Regions from separate parts of the Homo sapiens genome. Here regions 1, 2 and 3 are each linked to region 4. The links are contacts of gene promoters, found by promoter capture Hi-C in human tissues and cell types (Jung and others, 2019). All regions are on one chromosome and are shown on one strand. Each heading gives the region's core, a stretch centred on a gene start or on the middle of the fragment in contact. The rest is flanking DNA. Distances are from core to core; before and after follow the strand shown. Region 1 holds the start of PMPCA (peptidase, mitochondrial processing subunit alpha). Region 2 holds the start of INPP5E (inositol polyphosphate-5-phosphatase E). Region 3 holds the start of NRARP (NOTCH regulated ankyrin repeat protein). Region 4 overlaps CCDC183 (coiled-coil domain containing 183).

Region 1 (2,700 bases), core at 17-2,516, 390 kb after region 4:
AGTTATGTTTTGTCTGGGTTAAAAGTGAGCATCTGCCTTTCTACAGGACTTATTTCTACAGACTTTGGAAGACAAAGCAGAGGCTGACAACAAAGGCTCAGCCACGGGACCTGGAGCAAGCTGGTTCCGTCCTTTGGGTCTTAGTTGCTATCTCTGTAAAAACAGGGCTTATTAACAGTAACTCACTCTAAGTGCAGTTTGTACACATAAAGCACTTAACAGCTCTGCCCTCCAACAGCACCACCGAAGTCTTGGATAAAAGCCATATCCCTTATTAACCTGGTCCGAAGGCGGGGTGTGACTTGGCCTCTGTCTCCCTCTCCAAACTCATCTCTTGAACCCCCACACTCCCATAGGTCCTGGTCACACTGATTCTTGTCAATTCCTGGAACACATTTGACTCATCAACCCCAAAGCTTCTTCACCGTTCCAGGGCTTGCCCTTTGCCCATGCCTACCCCTTCTTTCATTCTTCAGCTCTTCCCTTAAATGTCACCCTGATGGAGGACTATCCCTCACCAGTCTAGTCTTTCCTGCTATTTTCTATCATGAAAGGCTGCTTGTTTACTCCAAAGCATTTACGCGACTGCCGATATTTTGTTTACGCTCCAGCCTGTATCCATCTCCTGGAGGCAGCACCTCCGCACCCCTGAAACGGCGCTCGTTGTGTGGGGAGGGGCGACGCCTGTGCTGTCGGAACAAAGTTCCAGCGTGGGGAAAGGCAGGCCCGGTCACTTGGGTGGGAGGAGCGGTGGGTACGGAAAGGGTTCTTAAACGTCAGAGATCAACGGACAGACCGCAGCAACCGAGAGCCTGGACCCTGGTGTCAGAACCCTGCGGGTCTAACAGAGCTGGGCCCCCACCGGCTCAGCCTCCTGAAGGAGCACGCGGTAGGTGAAGCGCGGGGGCAAATATGAGGCATGGCCTCGGAGAAGGCCCGTCGACCCGGGAAGTGAGGGGGGGAGAGGACCCAGCAGCCGGGGAGAGGAGAGACAGATGGGACTGCGTCCCCGGGCTCGAGGCGCAAAGCAAGGCAGGGCCCCCGTCGCCTCGGGGACACCAGTGTCCCGAAGTGCGAGCCCGTCCCACGGGCGCCATGTCACCTGTAGAAACCGAAGACGGAGCGTCCAGAAAGACTCGAGCCGCCCCCGCCCCAGGCCGAAGCCTGGTTCGCCTTTGGCTCACCTCAGCCGCGAACAGCCCCAAGAACCCGAGCCCCGCAGCAACCGCGTCGCCGCCAGCACCACAGCCGCCATCTTGCGTCTCCGCCCCGCTTCAGTCGTCACTTCCGCTTCCGCCCACGGCTTCCCCTCCCCCTCGCCGACGGCCCAAGGCGTTCAGGCACGCGCTTTCGGTGCTCGGAGCGGAAGCAGCGGCGAGAGGCTCGGAGGCGCGGGGGCGGCCGAGCGGCGGGCGACGGGGGCGGGCGACGGGGGCGGGCGACGCGGGCCGCGGCACGGGCGGAGCCGGGGCCATGGAGCCGCCGCTGCCGGGCTAGGCAGGTCGTGCCCCGCCGGGCCGGCGGCGATGTCGGGCTACCAGCGCCGCCCGGGCGCCACCCCGCTGTCCCGAGCCCGGAGCCTCGCCATTCCCGACGGTGAGCGGGGCAGGGGCCGAGTCCAGCGGTCCAGGTGGGCGGCGGCCGCCCCGGCACGCAGTAAAGTCGCTGTTGTCGTTGCTTCCAGCTCCAGCGTTCTATGAGCGCCGGTCTTGTCTCCCCCAGCTAAATTGTGAGCGCCCCCATGGCAGGGACCTGGACTCCCCCTTCTTCGGCATTCGGCCGGCCTTTATGTGCTATGTGCCCAGCCCGGTGCTGGCTTCCGTGGGAGACACAGGTGAGAGACGAGGGCGCCGGCCCCGGGGACGCTTCCAGTTCCCGCGCCACGTGTGGCACCTCCGCTGCAGCACGAGCTCGTCCATTGACCCATCAATGTGCAGAGCGCTCACTGCGTGCCAGGCACTCGGAATTCAAAGGCGGAGTCCCCTGCTAGGAGCTCACAGTCTGGTTGCGGGGAGACCTCCCCCAAGACAGACAGTTCCAGTACAGGATGGTTAGTGCCCGGGGAGCACAGGAGCCCGCCCGCTTTCCTCGTGGGGCTGGAGTCGGGGTGCCTTCACCTAGTGGGCAGTGATTGGAAACCGAGCTGGAGCATTCCATCTGCCTCCACAGCCGGGCAGTGGCCAGATCTGGTTCGTCCTCGTTCTACCCAAGCAGAAGTGCTGCTGGGTGCCCGGGGTGTGCAGGAGTGTTTGTGTGGTTATGCCAGGATCTGAGGACATTCGGGGGTTGTCACAAGACAAGAGGACGCGCTTGCCCCGGCTGGGCTTCAAAATCTGCTGAGGAGCCGCTTTCAGACCACGGACACCAGGGCCAGTCTGCAAGTCAGGCCATCTCCAGGGTCACAAGTCTGGGAGCTTGTGTTTTTTTTAAAGTTTTCTCGGCTGACCGGGCGCAGTGGCTTACGCCTGTAATCCCAGCACTTTGGGAGGCCGAGGCAGGCGGATCATGAGGTCAGGAGATTGAGACCATCCTGGCTAACAGGGTGAAAACCCGTCTCTACAAAAAATACAAAAAAATTAGCCGGGCGTGGTGGCAGGTGCCTGTAGTCCCAGCTACTCGGGAGGATGAGGCAGGAGAATGGCGTGAACCCAGGAGGCGGAGCTTGCAGGGAGCCGAGATCGCACCACTGCACTCCAGCTT
Region 2 (2,700 bases), core at 117-2,616, 360 kb after region 4:
ATCAGCGCCTCCGAGGAGCCGTGGGGTTCCTTCGGCATTAGTTCACGGTTTTTGAGAGAGGCCTTAGTTACTGCAGTGAATTTCTTTCCTGTTGCAAAGACGCTTCCAGCCTCACTTTACTTTCTGTGGCCTGATGAGGACCATGGGTGATTTTGTGTACCCAAAGCGCTGGGGACTGCCCACCGTGTGGCCCAGTCACTGGGAAGGAGCCCCAGAGAGCCGGCTGTCTGACATGATGGCTCAGGGTGGTCATCCAGGTTGAAAACTGACCGTGTGATGTTTGATTTGGGCTTCATTTCGTGTGTAGGAGCACGGTTAGACTCACTGTTAAGGAAGCTGGATGCACTTCTCTAAAAGGCTGCACTTTCCGTGAGCACTTTTCGTGGTACAATCCACATGACCCACTTTCTCCCCTGGGGGACGTTGGTTCAGAGGTTGGTAGCACTTGGGGAGAGTATCTTAACACAGTTTCTTGACAGCAGCTCTGGAACTTAGTATTTCTGCCCCGAGTTTTGCCACACTGAGACTTTGAGTAGCTCCTGGTGGACTCAACCCTGTTCAACTCAGAGACGGGCCTCCTCTCACTGATGCAAAGCTTTAAGGCTTCTCTGACTGTTCTGAAACTCTTCGTATTCTTGTCAAGTCTAAAGAGACTGAAGAAAAGATTTAAATACTAATAAAAATCAGTAGATAATTTCTGTAGGTTCTGCTGGAGGAATACAAACTGTTTGGTGTTTTAAATTTAAGTGTAGAAATTGTAGAATGTGGAATTAGCACAGATCCTTCCTGGCTTTCTGTTTCACTTGATCATTTAGCCCAGACCACCCAGGATGTTTTCCAAAATGTTCCACAGGCGTGTCCCGCTGGATCCATTTGTCCTTGTCACTTGGAGAAAGGCCAGTCCCTGTGACGGGGCAGCCCTCTCTGTCCCTCGGTCAGCTCGTGTGAATCCTGGGACCTCTTCCGGTCGGCTCTGCCCGCTGTTCTGGGGTCGACTGCCACGACTTTTGATTCAAGAAGCTTCCTCCAGGCGGGAGCGGCTATTTTTCCTAAATGAGAATTGTTACATTGCAAATTGTTGAATAAAATATTTTGCGCTCCTTCAAGCACCTTCACCTGTGGTTCCCTTTGGTTTGCTGGAAGCGAGTGAGTGCAGGTGTCCGCAGGCCTCGGCGCTGTCCTGGACCGCACCCAGGTCCTCTCCGGGGACCTGCACCTGCCTCGCTGGGACCTGCCGGACTGCGGGGCTGCCGGGTTGGGAGGGGCGTGGGAGACCCGTCCGGGTCCGGTGCGGCGCAGTCCTCCGGCCGCCAGGGGCCGCTGTGGGCGGGGCCGGGGCGCGGGGCGGGGACCGGGCGCGGCCCCGCGGCGGCGGTTGCTGGGTCCCGGCCGGGCTGACTCCGCTTCTGGGCGGCCGGGCCTCCGCGAGTACCGGGTCGACTTCGGAGTCTGCGAGCCCAGCCAGGGGTGCCCGCTTCCCACCCCTCTCCCCGAGCGGCGTCCCCGTCGGGGTCGAACCTCCCCCGCGACAGGCGCCCAGCCGCCTGTTCCCCCAGGCCTTGCCTGCGGACCGCCCTGGGAACGGCGTCTGGGAGCCCCGAGGGGCTGGCGGGACTCGGGGCCCGGGCCATGCGGCAGCCGCCCCCGCCCCTCCGCGACCATCCCCGGCCCAAGCGGGAGCCGCAGCGGCGTTTCTGCTCCTCGCTGCGCCGGCGACCCCGGACCCGGCACCCGTGACCCCTCGCGCTGCCTGCGGCCTCGCGCCGAGGCCTGCCCCGGGAGAGACCGTCCATGCCGTCCAAGGCGGAGAATCTGCGGCCCTCCGAGCCGGCCCCGCAGCCGCCGGAAGGGAGGACGCTCCAAGGACAGCTTCCCGGCGCTCCGCCGGCCCAGCGCGCGGGGTCCCCACCCGATGCTCCGGGCTCCGAGAGCCCCGCGCTTGCCTGCAGCACTCCGGCCACGCCCAGCGGCGAGGACCCGCCAGCCCGAGCAGCACCCATCGCCCCGCGGCCCCCCGCCAGGCCTCGACTGGAGCGAGCCCTGTCCCTGGACGACAAGGGCTGGAGGAGGAGGCGTTTTCGAGGCAGCCAGGAGGACCTGGAAGCCCGGAATGGGACCAGTCCCTCCAGGGGCTCAGTGCAGAGCGAGGGCCCCGGGGCCCCCGCCCACAGCTGCTCCCCGCCCTGCCTGAGCACCTCCTTGCAGGAAATCCCCAAGTCCCGCGGGGTCCTGAGCAGTGAGAGAGGGAGCCCGTCCTCGGGGGGTAACCCTCTCTCTGGGGTGGCCAGCAGCTCCCCGAACCTCCCGCACAGAGACGCCGCCGTGGCGGGGAGCTCGCCCAGGCTGCCCAGCCTGCTGCCCCCGCGCCCACCGCCTGCCCTGAGCCTGGACATCGCCTCCGACTCCCTGAGGACAGCAAACAAGGTCGACTCGGATCTTGCAGACTACAAGCTCCGCGCGCAGCCGCTCCTGGTGCGGGCCCACAGCAGCCTGGGCCCCGGCCGGCCGCGGAGCCCCCTGGCCTGCGACGACTGTTCCCTTCGCTCGGCCAAATCCTCCTTCAGCCTCCTGGCGCCCATCCGCAGCAAGGACGTCCGCAGCAGGTAGGGAGGGCCTGGCGGGTGCAGCGCCCGCGCCGCCTTCGTTGTAGTGTTCAGGCTGCTGGAACCTCGTGAGACCGTTCCCATCAGCAGCGTTTAA
Region 3 (2,700 bases), core at 64-2,563, 500 kb before region 4:
ACAGAGGTTCCCAGCCCACCAGGAGGACCCCAGGGCCTCAGGACCCTGCTCCGGTCAGCCAGGGTCTGTCCCGAAGGGAGCCTGCCCAGTTTTTCCTGCCAGTATGGGCACAGCATGGGGTGGGGACACACCCCTGTGGGGAGCCGGATGTGGGGACATGGAGCTGGTGGGCGGAAGCCTCCTCAGACAAGGCCTGGCATGGGGGTCTCCCCAGCCCGAGCTCAGAGCTGCCTGCGCGGAATTCCCGGCTTGGCTTCAGAAGGAATTCAAGCCCCAGCCTGCCTGGCCTCCTGCTCCGCGCCTGAGAATCACTCCTCCTTAATTTCCAACGACCACAGCGAGTTGTAAACTGTAAAACTCTAATGAGGAAATGCGCTGTGCTTCCCCTGCTAGTGCCTCCCGGTCAATTGTTAGAGTGGTCAATAAAAATGGGTTTTACAGTTTGGAAGCCAGGCGTTTCAGAATTCCCTTCTGGCCCTGGCGCCACACCTAGCCCTGCTCACCTGGGCAGGACCTATGTGTCCCGCATGCTGGTGCGTGGGCAGCAGAGGGAGGCAGGCCGCGGTCCCGACCCTCCCGCTGCGCCCCGGCCCGGGGCTTCCTCCCGAGAGGACAGCGGAACCCCCTTCACCGCCAGGCGATAGAAGCCGCGGTGGCCGGCCGGAGGCCCCTCGCATCAGTACGGTTGGGGCACACATAGGCTGAGCCGGCGGCCATGAGGCTGCCCGCGCGCGGGAAGGACCCGCGTGGCTGAAGGCCCCACGTCAGGGCCTGGAGTTGCCACCCGCGTGGACGGTGAGCCCGGAGGCGCGGGCTGGCCGGGGTCGCCGCGCGCCTCTCCGCTCAGAGGGGTCTCTCCTTCGCCACGGGCCTGAGATGCCCGCGAACCCCCTGCCCGGGAGAGGCCGCCCTCGGGGCCACCTGGCGGTCGCGCTCGGGTACCGGGCAAGGCCTGGGTCTGGCTGCTGAGGGAGCTTGGAATTCCCCGGGTGGCCGGAGGGAGAAGGGGCGGGACGACCGCAAAGAGACGCGGAGCGCCCGGGGGGCGCGCGGACGGCGGCGGCGACGGAGCTGGACCCCCCCGGCGGCCACCTGGCCTCCCCCGCCCAGGCGCTGCCGGCGACCAGCGCCCCCTGCCGCGAAGCGCGCCGCCGCCGGGACCCGCCCCCGGACCCCTGCGCACGGCACCGCCCACGCCCCGCCCCCATGTGGGCGCGGCCCAATCCCGGGGCCGCCGGCGCGCGCGTCACGGGCTGCCATTGTTATGCAAATATAAAGAAGGTAAAAGGCGCCCCGGCGCGGCGGGCGAGCTAGTGCTGCGGCGCGTGGGGAGGCGCCTTGGGACCGCGTGGGAGCCGCAGCCGAACCGAGTAGGGACCGGGACCGCGCGGCGCCGCCGTCCCCGGCCGGGCCCGGCCCCCGCGAGCCGAGCGCGCGCCCCCGTCGCCCACCCGGGCGCGGCTGGATGCGGCGGGGTCCCCGCGGCGGCGACCCCCGGCCCCGAGCGCCCGGAGCGCCCAGAGGCGGCGTGCGGGGCCCGGGGACGCCGCGCCCTCCATGCGCCGAGGCGCGCCCCGAGACAGCCGGGGGCCCGCGCCGCAGCCGCCGCCCGCGCTGAGCCCCGGCCCGGCCCGCGGCCCGCGCCCGGCGGCAGCATGAGCCAGGCCGAGCTGTCCACCTGCTCCGCGCCGCAGACGCAGCGCATCTTCCAGGAGGCTGTGCGCAAGGGCAACACGCAGGAGCTGCAGTCGCTGCTGCAGAACATGACCAACTGCGAGTTCAACGTGAACTCGTTCGGGCCCGAGGGCCAGACGGCGCTGCACCAGTCGGTCATCGACGGCAACCTGGAGCTCGTGAAGCTGCTGGTCAAGTTCGGCGCCGACATCCGCCTGGCCAACCGCGACGGCTGGAGCGCGCTGCACATCGCCGCGTTCGGTGGCCACCAGGACATCGTGCTCTATCTCATCACCAAGGCGAAGTACGCGGCCAGCGGCCGGTGATGCCCGCCGGGACCCCGGACCCCGGCCCTGCGCCCGCGTCGTCTCTGCTGTACCTTCCCGCCAACTACCTCGGTGCGCGCCCGGCTCGCAGGCCCCGCCAGAAGGCCCGTGGCCACGGCGAATACGGCGCGTGCGTCCCGGCCCCAGGGTCCGGCAGCCCCGCCGGCCGAGCGCCTCCCTGCGGCCTAGCCGGGCCCGGCCGGGCCGGAGCAGCTTCCCACGGCCCCCACCCGCTCGCCTGCCCGCCGCCTCGCGGGTGGGGGCGGGGCGCGGGCTCCAGCCCCTTTTGAAATTTGAGTCTCGCAACCAGCAAGTTCGGAATCCCGAGATACCGGATCCTCTGCGCAAAATGTTTTCTCCCGAAGGTGAAAGGCGGGCGGCGGGAGCCGAAGGCGGACTCGGAGCGCTCCGCCGCCGCCTTCAGGACCCGCCCGCAGGCCCGGGACGCGCCGATGCCGGCTGCAGCCGAGGAGCAGCCCCGAGGTCCGAGGTCCGCGCCGCTGGCGCGCGGCCGAGGAGACGCTCGGCTGTTCGCTGTTGCTGGTGTTCTAAACTATTTATCTTGTGTGTGTACATTTGTGGGTGGAGTTTGTGCGCCTGGTTTTTTTGTTTGGAAAACACTGCGTGGTCAATGTGGTTATGGGGGGGAGTGATGCATTTTTTTCTAGTCTTAAAACTAAAAACTTGAGTCTACCATTTC
Region 4 (2,894 bases), core at 248-2,747:
TGGTGCAGGGCCCTTGGGTGCTGGGGCCAGCATCTCTGAGGCCACATTTGGCTACAGGCTCTCAGCCTCTGGAGGGAGAGGCAGGGACCTGTCCTTCCCTTCACCCTGGCGACCACATGTCACACCTGGCCTCAGGGTGACTTGATCCGTTGGCCTGAATCAGTGCCAGCCTCTCCTTGGGACCCTGGCTGGGGGCAGGTGGGGAGCTGAGCGCTTACATTTCAGGGTCTCCGTGCTCATCAGGTTCGAGGGGAAGTCCAAGTCCATCTGGCCCTGATGGGAGGTGGGGGCGGGGAAGGGATGAGACATCCTTGGCAGGGAGTGGGCCCTGAGTGGTGGCCCTGAGCCTGTGTCCACCCAGCTGTCATGGGGATGGGCAGCCAGCCAGGCCCTGGCCTGGGGCTTACCCGGCGGTACTTCTCGCTGGTCTCCTTCGTGTGGATCTTGTCGATCAGCTTCTTCTGCTGGTTGAGCCGGTTCTCCCTTGCCCGGCGCTCCTCGATGAAGGACGCCTCCCTTTGCCTCATGTTCCTCTGGGGACATGCGGGTGGGCACAGGGTTGGGGAGCTGTCTCAACAAGGCCCCTAATGGCAGTAAAGCCAGCGGGCGGTTGGCCATGCTCACCTTACTAGACTTTGGAACTGCATCCCCGGCCAATGGCCACACCCTTTTCCTAAACCACTTGTGCCCGTGGCCCCTCAGCTCACGGCCCTCCTTGCCCATGCCTCAGAGCATGTGCCAGCCCAGACGCTCTGCTGCCCTCCAGCCGCTGGCCCCCAGCTGCCTCCTGGCCAGGTCCACCTAGAACTCACGGAAGTGCATTCAGCCTGCCTGAAGACAGATTCATCCTCTTCCCCAAAACCTGGCCTCTTCCAGCGTGCCCTTGGGCAGCTAAAACCGTCATCTGCTAACCCCTGCTCACGCACCCCAGACACTGCTCTCACCCTCGCCACTCTCGTTGCCAGCGCTTAGTGGGGTTGCCTCTTGAGGAGTTCTCAGCTCCGTTGCTCCTGGCCACCCCTTCTCCACCCCGGGTATACCCAGGTGATCAGCGCTTCTGCCCTGGCACCTTCCAGTCCCTGCAGCCTGAGTACACCCTTTCTGAAGCACAGACCTGGTCACATCTTTCCTCCACCTCCTCCCAGGGCTCCAGGTCAGTCCTTGGGCCCCCAGCCCAGCCGCCTCCGTGGACTCCTGGGGCCTGTGCCTCTGCAGCCTCCACTGCCCTGGCCACACGCTGCTCCATGTATCACACCCCTCCCAGCCCAGGGCCTTTTCCCAAGTTGTACCTCCTCCTCCCTAGCCCTGGCCACACCTGACCTTTGCGGGTTCAATCCCTCAGCCCAGCTCAAGCACTGTCTTCCTGGAAAGCCATCTGCCACCCCACCTGTCTCTGCTGAGCTGGCTCAGGGGCTGTGTGGCATTTCTTCATGGACTACTGGATGAGTGCCACCCACTTCAGGAGGACAGGGTCTGCCTGTCCCGGTCCCTGCTGTATCCCCAGAGCCTTGCAGGGACCTTGGCACAGACTGGGTGAATAGGTGACCCCCGCCCTGGCCCGGCCAGTTCTCTCCCTCTCCTCTACTTCATGGCTCCTGTGCTGGATGGGACCTGCTCTGTCCAGTGGGTGAGCAGAGCAGGCTGGCCGGGCTGGCCACTGGATCCTTCTGGGGATTGTAGGCAGTGTGGGCATGGGGGTCTCCTGAGAGACCCTGGCCAGAAGACACAAGAGAGCCCGCCCTGGGGGGCCCCAGCCCTGGGCCCTGAGCTCACCTTGACCCCATCCGAAGATCCAAGAGGGCTGGCCCTGGGGGGCCCCCAGCCCTGGGCCCTGAGCTCACCTTGACCCCATCCGAAGATCCAAGAGGGCTGGCCCTGGGGGGCCCCAGCCCTGGGCCCTGAGCTCACCTTGACCCCATCCGAAGATCCAAGAGGGCTGGCCCTGGGGGGCCCCCGGCCCTGGGCCCTGAGCTCACCTTGACCCCATCCGAAGATCCAAGAGGGCTGGCCCTGGGGGGCCCCCAGCCCTGGGCCCTGAGCTCACCTTGACCCCATCCGAAGATCCAAGAGGGCTGGCCCTGGGGGGCCCCCGGCCCTGGGCCCTGAGCTCACCTTGACCCCATCCGAAGATCCAAGAGGGCTGGCCCTGGGGGGCCCCCAGCCCTGGGCCCTGAGCTCACCTTGACCCCATCCGAAGATCCAAGAGGGCTGGCCCTGGGGGGCCCCCAGCCCTGGGCCCTGAGCTCACCTTGACCTCATCCGTGATCATCATGGCATCTTGGGACATGATCTTCATATCCGACAGCTCTGAGCAGTAGTTGACCACGAGGTTCTGCAGCTTGTCCAGCTCAATGGGGTATCCTGCCAGCACCTGTGTTGAATGGGGTTCTCTTGTGGCCCCTACAGAGTGGGCTGCAGTTGCCCCGAGCTTTTATCCCCCGACTAAGAGCCCTGAGAACAGTGATAGGTTCTCCTCTGTGGCCCCAGCCACCTCCCCCACTCCCCGCTGGGCACAACGGTGATGAAAGGTGTTTCACAGGGAGTGGACAGTGCTGGCCTGGTGGACTCTTTCACCACCTAGGGTCCAACAACCCAGAGAGACTGAGAGAGTTTGTGATGAAATGCTCTGCAGAAAAGGCTGACTGAAACCCGGGGAGGTTTGGGGACAGTTCTGCTTTGAAGTGAAACAGAGGGGCTCAAGACATGGGCTTGGGGTCAGAGAGTCAGGATTCAAGGCCAAGGCAGCTTCTGACCAGCTAGTTTAGCTGTGTGACATTGGGAAAGTTACTTAATCTCTCTGTGTCCCCATTTGTAAGATGATGGCTCGTTCAGAAGGTTGCCATCAGGATGAATTGAGTGTAAAAGGAATTATTTAGCCCAGAACCAGGTACATA

Evidence for each region. The method cuts DNA at HindIII sites, captures the fragments that hold promoters and counts their contacts. A contact is called where the count stands out against the background at its distance.
Region 1: the fragment with the promoter of PMPCA here is called in contact with a fragment that was not itself captured in region 4 in 3 of the 25 tissues and cell types used here (hippocampus, lymphoblastoid cells and spleen).
Region 2: a contact is called between the fragment with the promoter of INPP5E here and a fragment that was not itself captured in region 4, in 2 of the 25 tissues and cell types used here (hippocampus and spleen).
Region 3: the fragment with the promoter of NRARP here is called in contact with a fragment that was not itself captured in region 4 in 2 of the 25 tissues and cell types used here (lymphoblastoid cells and spleen).

Annotation. Positions count from the first base shown.
Region 1 is chr9:136,409,224-136,411,923 of GRCh38, reverse strand. It overlaps PMPCA (peptidase, mitochondrial processing subunit alpha), which reads right to left and starts at 1,266. Exons shown (of 13, transcript NM_015160.3): 1 at 1,185-1,266. The coding sequence starts at 1,255. ENTR1 (endosome associated trafficking regulator 1) reads left to right here and starts at 1,310. Exons shown (of 10, transcript NM_001039707.2): 1 at 1,310-1,596; 2 at 1,685-1,834. The coding sequence starts at 1,527. RefSeq lists enhancers at 1,028-1,077, 1,108-1,197, 2,048-2,207 and silencers at 1,408-1,497, 1,638-1,687. The HindIII fragment of the contact is 13,229 bases long and covers 1-2,700 here.
Region 2 is chr9:136,438,511-136,441,210 of GRCh38, reverse strand. INPP5E (inositol polyphosphate-5-phosphatase E) reads left to right here and starts at 1,366. Exons shown (of 10, transcript NM_019892.6): 1 at 1,366-2,603. The coding sequence starts at 1,792. SEC16A (SEC16 homolog A, endoplasmic reticulum export factor) reads left to right here. Exons shown (of 32, transcript NM_014866.2): 32 at 1-1,106. RefSeq lists silencers at 1,208-1,407, 1,458-1,637, 1,698-2,187 and enhancers at 1,260-1,893, 1,894-2,528, 2,478-2,587, 2,529-2,700. The HindIII fragment of the contact is 9,976 bases long and covers 809-2,700 here.
Region 3 is chr9:137,300,884-137,303,583 of GRCh38, reverse strand. NRARP (NOTCH regulated ankyrin repeat protein) reads left to right here and starts at 1,313. Exons shown (of 1, transcript NM_001004354.3): 1 at 1,313-2,700. The coding sequence starts at 1,656. The coding sequence ends at 2,000. RefSeq lists silencers at 754-1,393, 2,076-2,155, 2,226-2,285, 2,406-2,455 and an enhancer at 1,096-2,014. The HindIII fragment of the contact is 30,312 bases long and covers 1-2,700 here.
Region 4 is chr9:136,802,141-136,805,034 of GRCh38, reverse strand. It overlaps CCDC183 (coiled-coil domain containing 183), which reads right to left. Exons shown (of 14, transcript NM_001039374.5): 6 at 2,249-2,371; 7 at 408-533; 8 at 219-273. CCDC183-AS1 (CCDC183 antisense RNA 1) reads left to right here. Exons shown (of 5, transcript NR_024580.1): 5 at 1-1,108. Among named protein-coding and RNA genes, the nearest start is that of RABL6, 4.4 kb to the left of the region's middle. The HindIII fragment of the contact is 7,702 bases long and covers 1-2,894 here.